Regions from separate parts of the Homo sapiens genome. Here region 2 is linked to region 1. The links are contacts of gene promoters, found by promoter capture Hi-C in blood cells and fetal thymus (Javierre and others, 2016). All regions are on one chromosome and are shown on one strand. The core of a region is centred on a gene start or on the middle of the fragment in contact, and the rest is flanking DNA. Distances in the headings are between cores, read along the strand shown.

What was found. Contacts are between HindIII fragments. The CHiCAGO score rates a contact against its expected background, and 5 or more counts as called.
Region 2: a contact is called between a fragment that was not itself captured here and the fragment with the promoter of UBE2Q1-AS1 in region 1, in 2 of 17 cell types (endothelial precursors and megakaryocytes). The highest score is 9.4, in endothelial precursors.

What each region holds. Positions count from the first base shown.
Region 1 is chr1:154,550,685-154,556,611 of GRCh38, reverse strand. It overlaps UBE2Q1-AS1 (UBE2Q1 antisense RNA 1), which reads right to left and starts at 3,003. Exons shown (of 2, transcript NR_046668.1): 1 at 2,940-3,003; 2 at 1,584-1,962. UBE2Q1 (ubiquitin conjugating enzyme E2 Q1) reads left to right here. Exons shown (of 13, transcript NM_017582.7): 2 at 648-752; 3 at 1,080-1,184; 4 at 1,827-1,877; 5 at 3,440-3,580; 6 at 3,792-3,876; 7 at 4,148-4,208; 8 at 4,429-4,519; 9 at 4,633-4,691; 10 at 4,793-4,841; 11 at 5,120-5,215; 12 at 5,608-5,674. The HindIII fragment of the contact is 6,880 bases long and covers 271-5,927 here.
Region 2 is chr1:154,447,357-154,453,283 of GRCh38, reverse strand. It overlaps IL6R (interleukin 6 receptor), which reads right to left. Exons shown (of 10, transcript NM_000565.4): 7 at 5,113-5,159; 8 at 3,304-3,373. Among named protein-coding and RNA genes, the nearest start is that of IL6R-AS1, 44 kb to the right of the region's middle. The HindIII fragment of the contact is 1,007 bases long and covers 2,601-3,607 here.

The sequences.
Region 1 (5,927 bases), core at 1,754-4,253:
CTCCCAGCCTGCCATGTGGAGCCCTACAGCCCACGCCTGGACTGAGAAGGTGGCAGGTTCCCAAGGGAGAGGTGGGGAGAATTGGTCTTTGAGGGGCTCTTCTGGAAGTGGTGTGGGTAGATTCTTGCCAGTACCCTTTTACTCTTGGGTTCTGGAGATACAGTCTAGTTTTTATACTTCTTCCCTACTGAACTCTGCTTTTTTCACTTCAGTGTCATTGTGATGAGGTGATCCCTTCCTCAGCCGATTCTGGAGTTTGAAAAGCAAGCTTGGAGGACTGTTCTGGGTCCAGGGAGAACTTGAAGTCTAGAACTTGTATAGGCAGTGCAGGAGATGAGGAGTCCCCCTTCGCTGTTAGCCAAGTTTGGCTGTGCTAGGTTTCCTGGTTTGTACTCTCGAGGAAAGAAAGAAAAGGTTTCAGTCTGCTTCTCGGAAAGGGTCTTCCCAGGGACTGTTTTTCTTCCAGTTTAGAATTTGTTGTGAAGCTGCTTGGTTAGATGCTGACCTAAGTTGGGCTTTTATGTGTGTGTAGGGGGTGGGGGTGGGAAGCAAAGGGGCTAGAAGTCTTGGGGGGAAGAGGACAGGCAAAATCTGGCTTTTCCCAGAGTCACCCATTTTGATTGCTCTTATTGCTCTTTTCCCTTCAGGAGTCATACCCTGCTGTGCCCCCCATCTGGTCGGTGGAGTCTGATGACCCTAACTTGGCTGCTGTCTTGGAGAGGCTGGTGGACATAAAGAAAGGGAATACTCTGGTGAGGGGGCCACAGGGTAGGGGTACATTTTGTTCTTATGAGGCCCATGCCACAAAGGCATCCTGTGAAAGGGATCCTGAAAAGTGGACGGTACACAGCTAAACATTTAGGGGATGACCTCTCGGGGGAGTTGCTTACTGAAGCCAGAGGGAGACCCTGCATCGGCCCTGGGATTGGTCCATCAGGAGACTCATTCCCACAGCCACGTGGCCCATAAGGCTTAGAGAACTAGTTATTGGTGTGGGGCCCAAACTAAGAGCTCATCCATGCACTTATCCAGATCGGAGTGGGGAAGGATTTGATGTCTCTGTGCTCCCCTACCTGTAGCTATTGCAGCATCTGAAGAGGATCATCTCCGACCTGTGTAAACTCTATAACCTCCCTCAGCATCCAGATGTGGAGATGCTGGATCAACCCTTGCCAGCAGAGCAGGTGAGCAGCTGAGGAGCCTCGGGCCCTGTTGTGCAGAGTTGCCCCACAGGGTACTCAGTAAATAATTGAGACAAATCAGTAGTTTCTCTCCATCCCCACCGGCTCCCAAAAACATACACGTCTTATGACTCTCACCCTCGTTCTTCTCCAGATGGGAATCTTCTTTTGCTAAATGGGGCACTGGTAGCTTCATCTCTGATATCAAAATTCATTCTCATGGGCAGCATCCCAGATGTTGAAAGGGAGCGGGGGAATTTTTACCATTATCTTAGCAATAACAGTTGGTGGCCACTGGGGACCCAGGCCCCTTGGTGAGAACCAAGAATGCAATATCAGTCTAAAGAAGATCAAGTAAAGGAGGGGTTCTTAGGAGAATTAAACTAGGATTTAGGAGGTGGGTGACAGAGACAGCCATTTTGCTTTTCTTTTATTCTTTGGCAGTGATAGGCGAAAAATAATGGGCTGGTAGCAAAGCCATTCCCTGGGCTGTTGCTTCCACTCAGATCTGGCTGGTGGAGAGACTGGCAGCATTACAGGCAGGCGCACAACTTCCAGACCTGGGGGCTCAGGGGAGTAGGTTGGAGGCTGCATTCTAGCAAGCCACTGGGGCTCTGATCTCCATCTTTCCCTTCCTTGCTGCAGTGCACACAGGAAGACGTGTCTTCAGAAGATGAAGATGAGGAGATGCCTGAGGTAGGCTTGCCCCCTGAGGTGGCATTGGCTGGAAGCTCTTGCAGTCAGCAACATTGGTACCCATATCCAGAACTCCAGTCTAAAACTGGAGAGAGAAAAATATCAAAGGAATAAAGACAGATTTACTGACCTGGAGGAATAGCCAGTGTAGTAGAGGAGACAGGGCACCCATATCCAACCACTGAAGACAGGTGCAGCGCGGTTCAAACCAAATACTGGGTAAGTTAATTTCAAATGGCTTTGGAGTCCAACAAACCTGTGTTTGCATCCTAGCTATCCTAATTGAGGAATTTTATGTAATCTCACTAAGCTACAGTTTTCTTATCTATAAAGTAGGATTATAATACCTACTGCATATGGTTGTCTTGAGATTAAATGAGGTGTTATATATAAAATGCTTCAGATGATACATGATAAATGCTAAACAATCTATCTGATATATTCTCTAAAAACATACAGAATATAAAATCATGGTTAGGAATTTGAGCTTTAGAGCTAGACAGAACTTGACTGAATCTTAGCTCTGCTAAGAGCTGTGACTTTGGGCATGATAATTGACCTCACTAGACTCAGCTTCCGCATCTATAAAATGGATAATGATAGAATAATGAGTGATGGTGGTAAGAATGAAATGAGCTAGTATCTGCGGCACCTAGGACAGAACCTGGCATGTAATAAACACTCAGTAGACATTACCTGCTGGTGTGGTAATTAGGTATGTCCTGCCAGAAATGGGGAGATCACTCTGATTACTTTTATTTCCTAGCATTAGATTAATATCCCAGGTTCTATAACCGTGTAAGGTTCTTGAGACTGGCAAAGGGCTGACGACATGAAATTTACTCCTCCCAGATAGTGGACAGCCCTCTGGGCCACACCCCCAACATCTGGCTGAGGGGCTCAACCCTACATAGGTTCTCCTCCTTCCCTATGCTCAGTGAGCTAGTTGCTTGCTCACTTAGAGCAGGATGAATAAGGGGCTAATTCTGTTCTTGACCTCTTCCATATATCTCTCTGGACATCCTTTCTCATTTCCATCTGGCAGTGCGTGCCTCTGCATACCTGATTCATGCCTTGCATTTGTAGCGAGGAGAGGAGATGTAATGATTCAGGTTTCTCCTTTAGGCTTGGGGCCCTGAGAACTCCCGGGTGCAATAGTCACCTGGTGAAACATGAGCTTTGAGTCACAGGGTCAGGCCCAAGTCATTTCTGCTAGGAATTAGGGAAGAGTTTCTGCTGCCAAGGGAGTTTTAGGAACAGTTGGAGCAGGGTCAGTCCAGGAAACAAGAGGGCTAAGTCCCTGCCTCGATCTCAGCTGCAGCTCTGCTCGTTTCCGAAGTCCTTGCTGTAGCTTGAGAGCTGAAGATTTAGACTGTGGAGGGAATGGGGCTGGAAATTGTTCTAAAAATGGAAAGCACGTTGCGTTTATAAGACTGCTAGATGGACTGCTTCACTTTAACTTTTGGCTCTTCGCCAAATGGGACTGGGAAGGTGATGGTCATTCTCTAACCTGTGTCGGTTTTTTTCCTTTTCTTTTCACTCCCACCCCACACCTCCTCCAGGACACAGAAGACTTAGATCACTATGAAATGAAAGAGGAAGAGCCAGCTGAGGGCAAGAAATCTGAAGATGATGGCATTGGAAAAGAAAACTTGGCCATCCTAGAGAAAATTAAAAAGAACCAGAGGCAAGATTACTTAAATGTACGTGCCTTCTAGAGAGAGGCTGGTGAAGGGGTTGGTGGGAAATGGCTGGGAAGTAGTAGGCCATCGCATCTCAGTATGGAGAGCAGACTCCTTTTTTGTGCCTAATCCTTTCTTAAATCCTGGGCAAGCTGCCAGACTGCCCCTAAGGTCTAACGTGTGTTTATAAACCACACGACCAAGGAATGTTCCTGTCATCCGTCCCTCACAGGGTGCAGTGTCTGGCTCGGTGCAGGCCACTGACCGGCTGATGAAGGAGCTCAGGGATATATACCGATCACAGAGTTTCAAAGGCGGTGAGTTTGCCCCAGAGAGGGGCCTGCACAAGAGTCACCCATAAAGAAGGGTATGGTGGCAAGGGGCCCAAGAGGTTCTGGGGTCCAGGAGTGCTTATGAACTTTTCAGGCCAAGAATGGAGCTCCTCAAGCCAGTGGCTTGGTTGCATGTCCATCTGTGGTGAACCTAGAGCTGTTGATCTTTTTCTCTCAGTCTGGGAAAGGGGTCTGCATTAGAGACCACTCACCACCTGGACCATTCTACTAACACCTGTTTTTTCCCTCCTTCCAGGAAACTATGCAGTCGAACTCGTGAATGACAGTCTGTATGATTGGAATGTCAAACTCCTCAAGTGAGTGGGGACTCTGGGATTGGAGAGGAAGTTGAGGAGGAGTGTGAGTGGGGCTACTGTGGTGGGATCTCCAGGGCAGCCCCATCCAGCATTTTCATTCAGGGTCCCGGAGCGGGTGTGGGCAGTGGTTTCGTGGTCTGCTGCCAGCCAGGGCAGGGGAGCCCTTATGAAGCTCCTGAGGTGGAACCAGGCATCTGAGCCCAGGCTTGTTGCTTCTTAGAGTTGACCAGGACAGCGCTTTGCACAACGATCTCCAGATCCTCAAAGAGAAAGAAGGAGCCGACTTCATTCTACTTAACTTTTCCTTTAAAGTAAGACTTTTCTTTTCCAGTCTCTCCCTCTGGCCTAGGCTGCCCAGTCTGCCTGACAGTCCTGTGGAGGATGCTGGCCTCCCTCCCCTGATTGTCGTCTCTCTCTCTCTCAGGATAACTTTCCCTTTGACCCACCATTTGTCAGGGTTGTGTCTCCAGTCCTCTCTGGAGGGTGAGTGGCTGGCATGCGGAAGAGGGCATCTCCTCTGGCAGAGGGCGGGGAAGAGACTTGGAGATTTTGTCAGGCACAGCTGACTAACCTTTCTCATGCAGGTATGTTCTGGGCGGAGGGGCCATCTGCATGGAACTTCTCACCAAACAGGTGAGCCTGTCTCTCCTCCTTGGCCAGGCCGGCCTGGGCGGGGATTGTCTGAGCTTTACAGCACACACCCCTACGGGCTGGGTGATAGACATGATGTGGCCCTTTCATTCTGCTGGGCTGGGTCTGCACCCACTGACCTAGACAGACAGGTGGTGGCAGTGCTGGGGGCAAAGGGCAAGGGCCCTCCTATAGACACAGCTGATTGCCCAGAGGACAAGCATGAGGGTTCTCTGGAAGCTCCATCTGGACCTGCTTGCCTTGTCCTTCCCTTCACCCAGGGCTGGAGCAGTGCCTACTCCATAGAGTCAGTGATCATGCAGATCAGTGCCACACTGGTGAAGGGGAAAGCACGAGTGCAGTTTGGAGCCAACAAAGTAAGGATCCTGGTCCTGGGGCTGGTGGGGCTGGGTGGAGCCAAGTACACTTGGGGCCACTAGCAGGCCAAGGCTGCCTTCTTTAGAGGAATGAGCATAAGGCCCCCGGGCTGGTGGCATTGGATGAGAGGGCCTAGGGTGCCCACAATGGAACAACTGTGCCTTGGCCCCTAGGGGCACCCCTAGGACTTTTGGGAGGTTTCGGGTCTGGAAAAGGAAGACTATGGGATTATGCCTCCAAGGGACCTCGAAGGTGGAGGGTACTTAGTGTTTTACTAGACCACAGTGCTGGGAGCTGGGACTCTGGGGTCTCTGGGTGACAGCCTGCAGAAGGTGAGGGGCAGTAAGGCCACAGCTAGCCATGGCCTGATCTGGTGGCTTCCTCTCCCCAGTCTCAATACAGTCTGACAAGAGCACAGCAGTCCTACAAGTCCTTGGTGCAGATCCACGAAAAAAACGGTGAGGCTGGAGCCAGGACTCAGGAGATTCGGACACTTGCCACACCCAGGTTTTCACTTCCAGCCACAGAGCAAGAACCCCTTCTTTTGGTTTCTGATACTCAACCACCCATTAACACAGCACCTGCCCCAGTTCTCCCAGGAGGGACTGGCGGTGGCTAACATTCACAACCTCTTCCAGAAACACACCAAAATGATCGTATCACCGATAAACTTGGTGCTACCCCCTTCTTGACCACCTTTTGAAAAAGCTC
Region 2 (5,927 bases), core at 1,855-4,354, 100 kb after region 1:
TGTAATGAAAGCAGTATGCTTGGCTTGCTCATTTATTAACATTTCATCATCTTTTCTATTTGTTCCTTCTTTTTTTTTGAAATGGAGTCTCGCTCTTGTCACCCAGGCTGGAGTGCAGTGGTGTGATCTCCGCTCACTGCAGCCTCCGCCTCCCGGGTTCAAGCAATTCTCCTACCTCAGCCTCCCAAGTACCTGGGACAATAGGCACATGCCACCATGCCCGGCTAATTTTTGTATTTTTTGTAGAGATGAGGTTTTGCCATGTTGCCCAAGCTGGTCTCCAACTCCTGACCTTAGGTGATCCGCCCACCTCGGCCTCCCAAAGTGCTGGGATTACAGGCATGAGCCACGGCGCCTGGCCATATATTTGTTCCTTCTTTCATCCAACAAATATTCTTTGAGTGCCTATCATGTATCTAAATGGATCTTACATCCAATCAAGGGAGACAGACAAATGAATTTTTTTTTTTTTTGAGACGGAGTCTTGCTCAGTGGCGCTGTCTCGGCTCACTGCAACCTCCGCCTCCCGGGTTCACCCTATTCTCCTGCCTCAGCCTCCCGAGGAGCTGGGACTACAGGCACCCGCCACCACACCCGGCTAATTTTTTGTATTTTTAGTAGAGACGGGGTTTCACCGTGTTAGCCAGGATGGTCCTGATCTCCTGACCTCGTGATCCACCTGCCTCGGCTCCCAAAGTGCTGGGATTACAGGCGTGAGCCACCGCGCCCGGCCAAACAAATGTTTTTTAAAAAAATTATCAGGAAAAGCCTCCCGGAGAAGGGTGCATCTGAGCAGAGACTTGAGTAATAGGAAGGAGCTGGCAAAGTGAATGTCAGAGGAAGCGTGTCCAGGCAGAGCACACAGCAAGTGCAAAGGCCCTGAGGTAGAGCATGTGTGGAGGAGCAAGGAGGGCAGTGTGGCTGGGGCAGAGCGAGGAAAGGGAGAATGGAGAGGCAACGTCTAAAGATAGGGGACCACATGGCTTTGCTGGGACTCCTCGTAGAAACTGGGGACTTTGTCAAGACTTTGACTTTTACTCTGGGGGAGATGGTACTGAGCCAGAGAGAGCTTGGATTTGTGTTTTAAGGGATACTCTAAGTGCTGGTTGGAAAAGAGTTGGTTGGGGGTTAAGACTAGAAGTTGGTAGACCAGTTGGCAGCCCAGGAAGCCCTGCTGGATGAGAGGCGGCAGGGGCTGGACTGGGTGTTGGCACTGGAGATGGTGAGGAGTGGTCAATTCCTAGATACGTCTCAAAGCACAAGGACAACGCTTGCTGAGGGACTGGACACAGGATGAGGAGTAGGGAGGAAGCCTGCCCGATCCCCCGCACCTGAGCAAATGCGGTACCAGTTACTGAGATAGGGAAGATGGAGAAGAACAGATCTGGGTTGAATAGGTGGGGAGGCGTCAGGTGTTCTCTTTTAGACATGTTAAATTTGAGAATGCTGGCCAGGCGCGGTGGCTCACACCTGTAATCCCAGCACTTTGGGAGACCGAGGCAGGCAGATCACCTGAGGTGGGGAGTTCGAGTCCAGCCTGACTAACATGGAGAAACCCCGTTTCTACTAAAAATACAAAATTAGCCAGGCGTGGTGGTGCATGCCTGTAATCTCAGCTACTCGGGAGGCTGAGGCAGGAGAATCGCTTGACGAGACTCCGTCTCAAAAAAAAGAAAAAAAATCATCAGTGAGGGTGGACGAAGAGGACTGGAGGTTCCCCTCCTCCATAGCAGCTTTTGTTTTTGTTGTTGTTGTTTTGTTTTTTTGACATGGAATCTCACTCTGTGGCCCAGGCTAGAGTGCAGTGGCTCGATCTCAGCTCACTGCAACCTCTGCCTCCCAGGTTCAAGTGATTCTCTTGCCTCAGCCTCCCAAGTAGCTGGGATTATAGGCACCTGCCATCACGCCTGGCTAATTTTTGTATTTTTAGTAGAGATGGGGTTTCACCATGTTGGCCAGGCTAGTCTTGAACTCCTGACCTCAGGTGATTCTCCTACCTCGGCCTCCCAAAGTGCTGGGATTACAGGCGTAAGCCACCGCGCCCGGCCCATAGCAACCTTTGAACACCCAACCTCTTGCATCCCACCCATACCATTCAAAGCCCATTTCAAATGGCACTTCCTCCATGAGCTTTCTGTGACTGCTCAGCTTGATATACTCTTTCAAATCTCTAAATTCCACTTTGCTTTATCTGTGCCTCCCTTTTGGCCCATCTCACATGCTGGTCTTTGTCACAGTTACCAATTTACTCTTTGTCAGAGCCTGGACTGTAGCCTCCTTGAGAACAGGGATGGCTCTAATCCTCTCCGAGTCCCCAACTGTGCAGAGCTCAGCCCCAGGTATTTAGCAGGTCCTCCACAGGTGCACTGCACCATGGTAGGGCTTTGTACCTGGGCTGTTGTAGCAGAGGCAGCCAGCATCAGTGCAGGCAGGAATCCACCCAGGGATGGGGAACGAGGGCAAGGACTGCCTCACGAAGCCCAAGAGTCATCAGGGGAGCTGCTCAACTACTGAACCTCTGGAGTCTGGATTCCATAAGTCCCATATACCTAGTCAAACACAGGACTTGTGATCTTTCTTGATTCAAATACTGGTAAGCTTTCCTGGTCTTGCAGGGATAGGGAATCAAAAGCATTGAAATCAAGGGCTCCCAAAATAAAGATTTCCCTCAACAGGTATTCCATTTCAGACTCCAATAATCTTGTTTGCAGCACATTCATTTGTATTGTGGGCCAACTGTGAAATATCTCACTTTTCAAATATCTCGAAGTGATTTGTCCCACTTTTCTTACGGTCTCCTCATTATATCTTAGCTAACAATATCAAAGTTCAACATATAAAGTAATAAAAGAACATTTCTGGCCAGGCACGGTGGCTCATGCCTGTAATGTCAGCACTTTGGGAGGCCGAGGTGGGTGGATCACAACGTCAGGAGTTCAAGACCAGCCTGGCCAACATAGTGAAACCCTGTCTCTAGTAAAAATACAAAAATTAGCTGGGCATGGTGGCATGCGCCTGTAATCCCAGCTACTTGGGAGGCTGAGGCAGGAGAATCGCTTGAACTCAGGAGACAGAGGTTGTGGTGAGCCGAGATCATGCCACGGCACTCCAGCCTGGGCAACCGAGCAAGACTCTCTCCAACACACACACACACACACACACACACACACACACACACAGAACATTTCTGCGATTGATCTGTGATTGATCCTCTGACGACATGTCCAAATAAGAAAGGACTTTCTGCAGAGACAAATCTTCTGTCCCTCGGACCCTGGGAATATGAAAATACCCAGTCCTTACCTGGGAGGCTTGTCGCATTTGCAGAATCTCTGAAGAGAATATTATCATCGTCTTTATTAGTAGTAAGTGCCTAAAAGAGACATTCCTCACCATCAGCCTGTTTCTGCAGATTGCACCATCATTCAGAACCAGTTCAGGAGTTACCTCCTCCTCAGAGCCCTCCCTGATCCACCCAAAGCATTCCTTTCTCCATTTCATTCATAACAGTGGAAAAATCAATAATACTATTATTTGCATTTTTTCTATCCACACCATGCCTGCTAAAGGTGGGGCTTTCTTTCCACCTGCCTCTCCACCAAAAGCTTAAAGCTGCACAGAGAAGATGCTCAGTGGATACACTGAAGCAGCTGTTGTCCTTACAGGTCCGATGCAAGGATGCAGGTACTACCATGACTGGAATGCTGGTTCCACCACTTACGAGCTATGTCACCTTGGACAGACTTCTTTTTTTTTGTTTGTTTTTTTGTGAAATGGAGTTTCACTCTTGTTGCCCAAGCTGGAGTGCAATGGCATGATCTCGGCTCACTGCAACCTCCGCCTCCCAGGTTCAAGCGATTCTCCTGCCTCAGCCTATCAAATAGCTGGGATTACAGGCATGCGCCACCACACCCAGCTAATTTTGTATTTCAGTAGAGAAAGGGTTTCTCCATGTTGGTCAGGATGGTCTTGAACTCCTGACCTCAGGTGATCTGCCTGCCTCAGCCTCCCAAAGTGCTGGGATTACAGGTGTGAGCCCCTGTGCCCGGCCCTGGCCTCAGACTTAACTCACGTTAAGAAGCCCTACAAGGCCGGGCGCGGTGGCTCACGCGTGTAATCCCAGCACTTTGGGAGGCCGAGGCGGGTGGATCATGAGGTCAGGAGATCGAGACCATCCTGGCTAACAAGGTGAAACCCCGTCTCTACTAAAAATACAAAAAAAATTAGCCAGGCGCGGTCGCGGGCGCCTGTAGTCCCAGCTACTCGGGAGGCTGAGGCAGGAGAATGGCGTGAACCCGGGAAACGGAGCTTGCAGTGAGCCAAGATTGCGCCACTGCAGTCCGCAGTCCCACCTGGGCGACAGAGCGAGACTCCGTCTCAAAAAAAAAAAAAAAAAAAAAAAAAAAAAGCCCTTACAAGCACTCCCTTGCAATGTTAACATAAGGAGCCAATGAAACAGCAAATGCAAGGCTCACAGTTTAGCAGGATGTGGCCAGTCCTCAGTCGGTGTCAGTTTCCCCAGAACCCGTGTTGGGAGCACTCTAGCCCCATGGGTATGGGCTTCACCTGCAGCTGTTCCTACATGGAACACAGATAAGGTTCAAGAGCCCCAGGCTCCTTCCCTGTGCCGCACAGCTCCAGAAGTGGCTATGACTCCCAGCTTAGCATTTAGGGAATTAAGGGCCACAGGAGGAGATATAGTTGGATAGGAAATTGGATTACTCAAGGAATTTGTTAAGCAGCTTCAGAGGTAATCCTCTTTCCAGCAAATTATGTCACCAAGAGTCCACAGGGGAAGGATGCAGATAAACAGAATCCAATCTCAAGCTAAGCCATTAGCGTTGTCCAAAAAGCTCAGAGATGAAATAGCAGCTGCTAGACGCAGAGCAGTTCTGCACGCCAGGCCAGCGCTGCTCCACTCCTTACAGTCCTGGGACAAGATAATTTCTATGATTCCCTTTCACAGAGGTTTGAAAAGCACAGGTAACTCACCACGACCACATTTCTACTAGTGACAGAACTGGATTTAAACCAAATTCGGTCTGGCATCAGCCCACACTCCTAAACACGAGGTGCTGCAGCCCTGACCCTTTTACAAGAACAGGAGCTCACCTGCATGGGGGTGGACACCTCGTTCTCAGCTGGAGGACTCCTGGATTCTGCGGACAGAAGAAAGGCTCATTATTAGTGATTCATGGGCCCTGGAGTCCTGTCTCAGGGGCTTCAGCATCAGAAAAAAAAAGTTCATCTCAATGTTATTTAAAAGAACAGCATGGGCTGGGCGCGGTGGCTCACGTCTGTCATCCCAGCACTTTGGGAGGATGGGTAGATCACCTGAGGTTAGGAGTTCGAGACCACCCTGACCAACATGGAGAAACCCTGTCTCTACTAAAAATACAAAATTAGCTGGGTGTGCTGGCACATGCCTGTAATCCCAGCTACTCGGGAGGCTGAGGCAGGAGAATCGTTTGAACCCGGGAGGCGGAGGTTGCAGTGAGCCGAGATCATGCCATTGCACTCCAGCATGGGCAATAAGAGCAAAACTCCGTCTCAAAAACAAAACAAAACAAAACAAAACAAAACAAAACAAAACAAAAAACAGCATGCTGGAAATAACCAAATATCCAACCGTAAGGGACTAGCTGTAGAAATTATGACATAACTACATAATGCAGAAACTTTTAAAATTTATTTTATATATATATATGTATGTGTATATATATATATGTGTATGTGTATATATATGTATGTGTATATATATGTATGTGTGTATATATATATGTGTGTGTGTGTGTGTGTGTGTGTGTATATATATATATATATATATATTTTTTTTTTTTTTTTTGAGATGGAGTTTCACTCTTTTGCCCAGGCTGGAGTGAAGTGGCATAATCTCGGCTCACTGCAACCTCCACCTACTGGGTTCA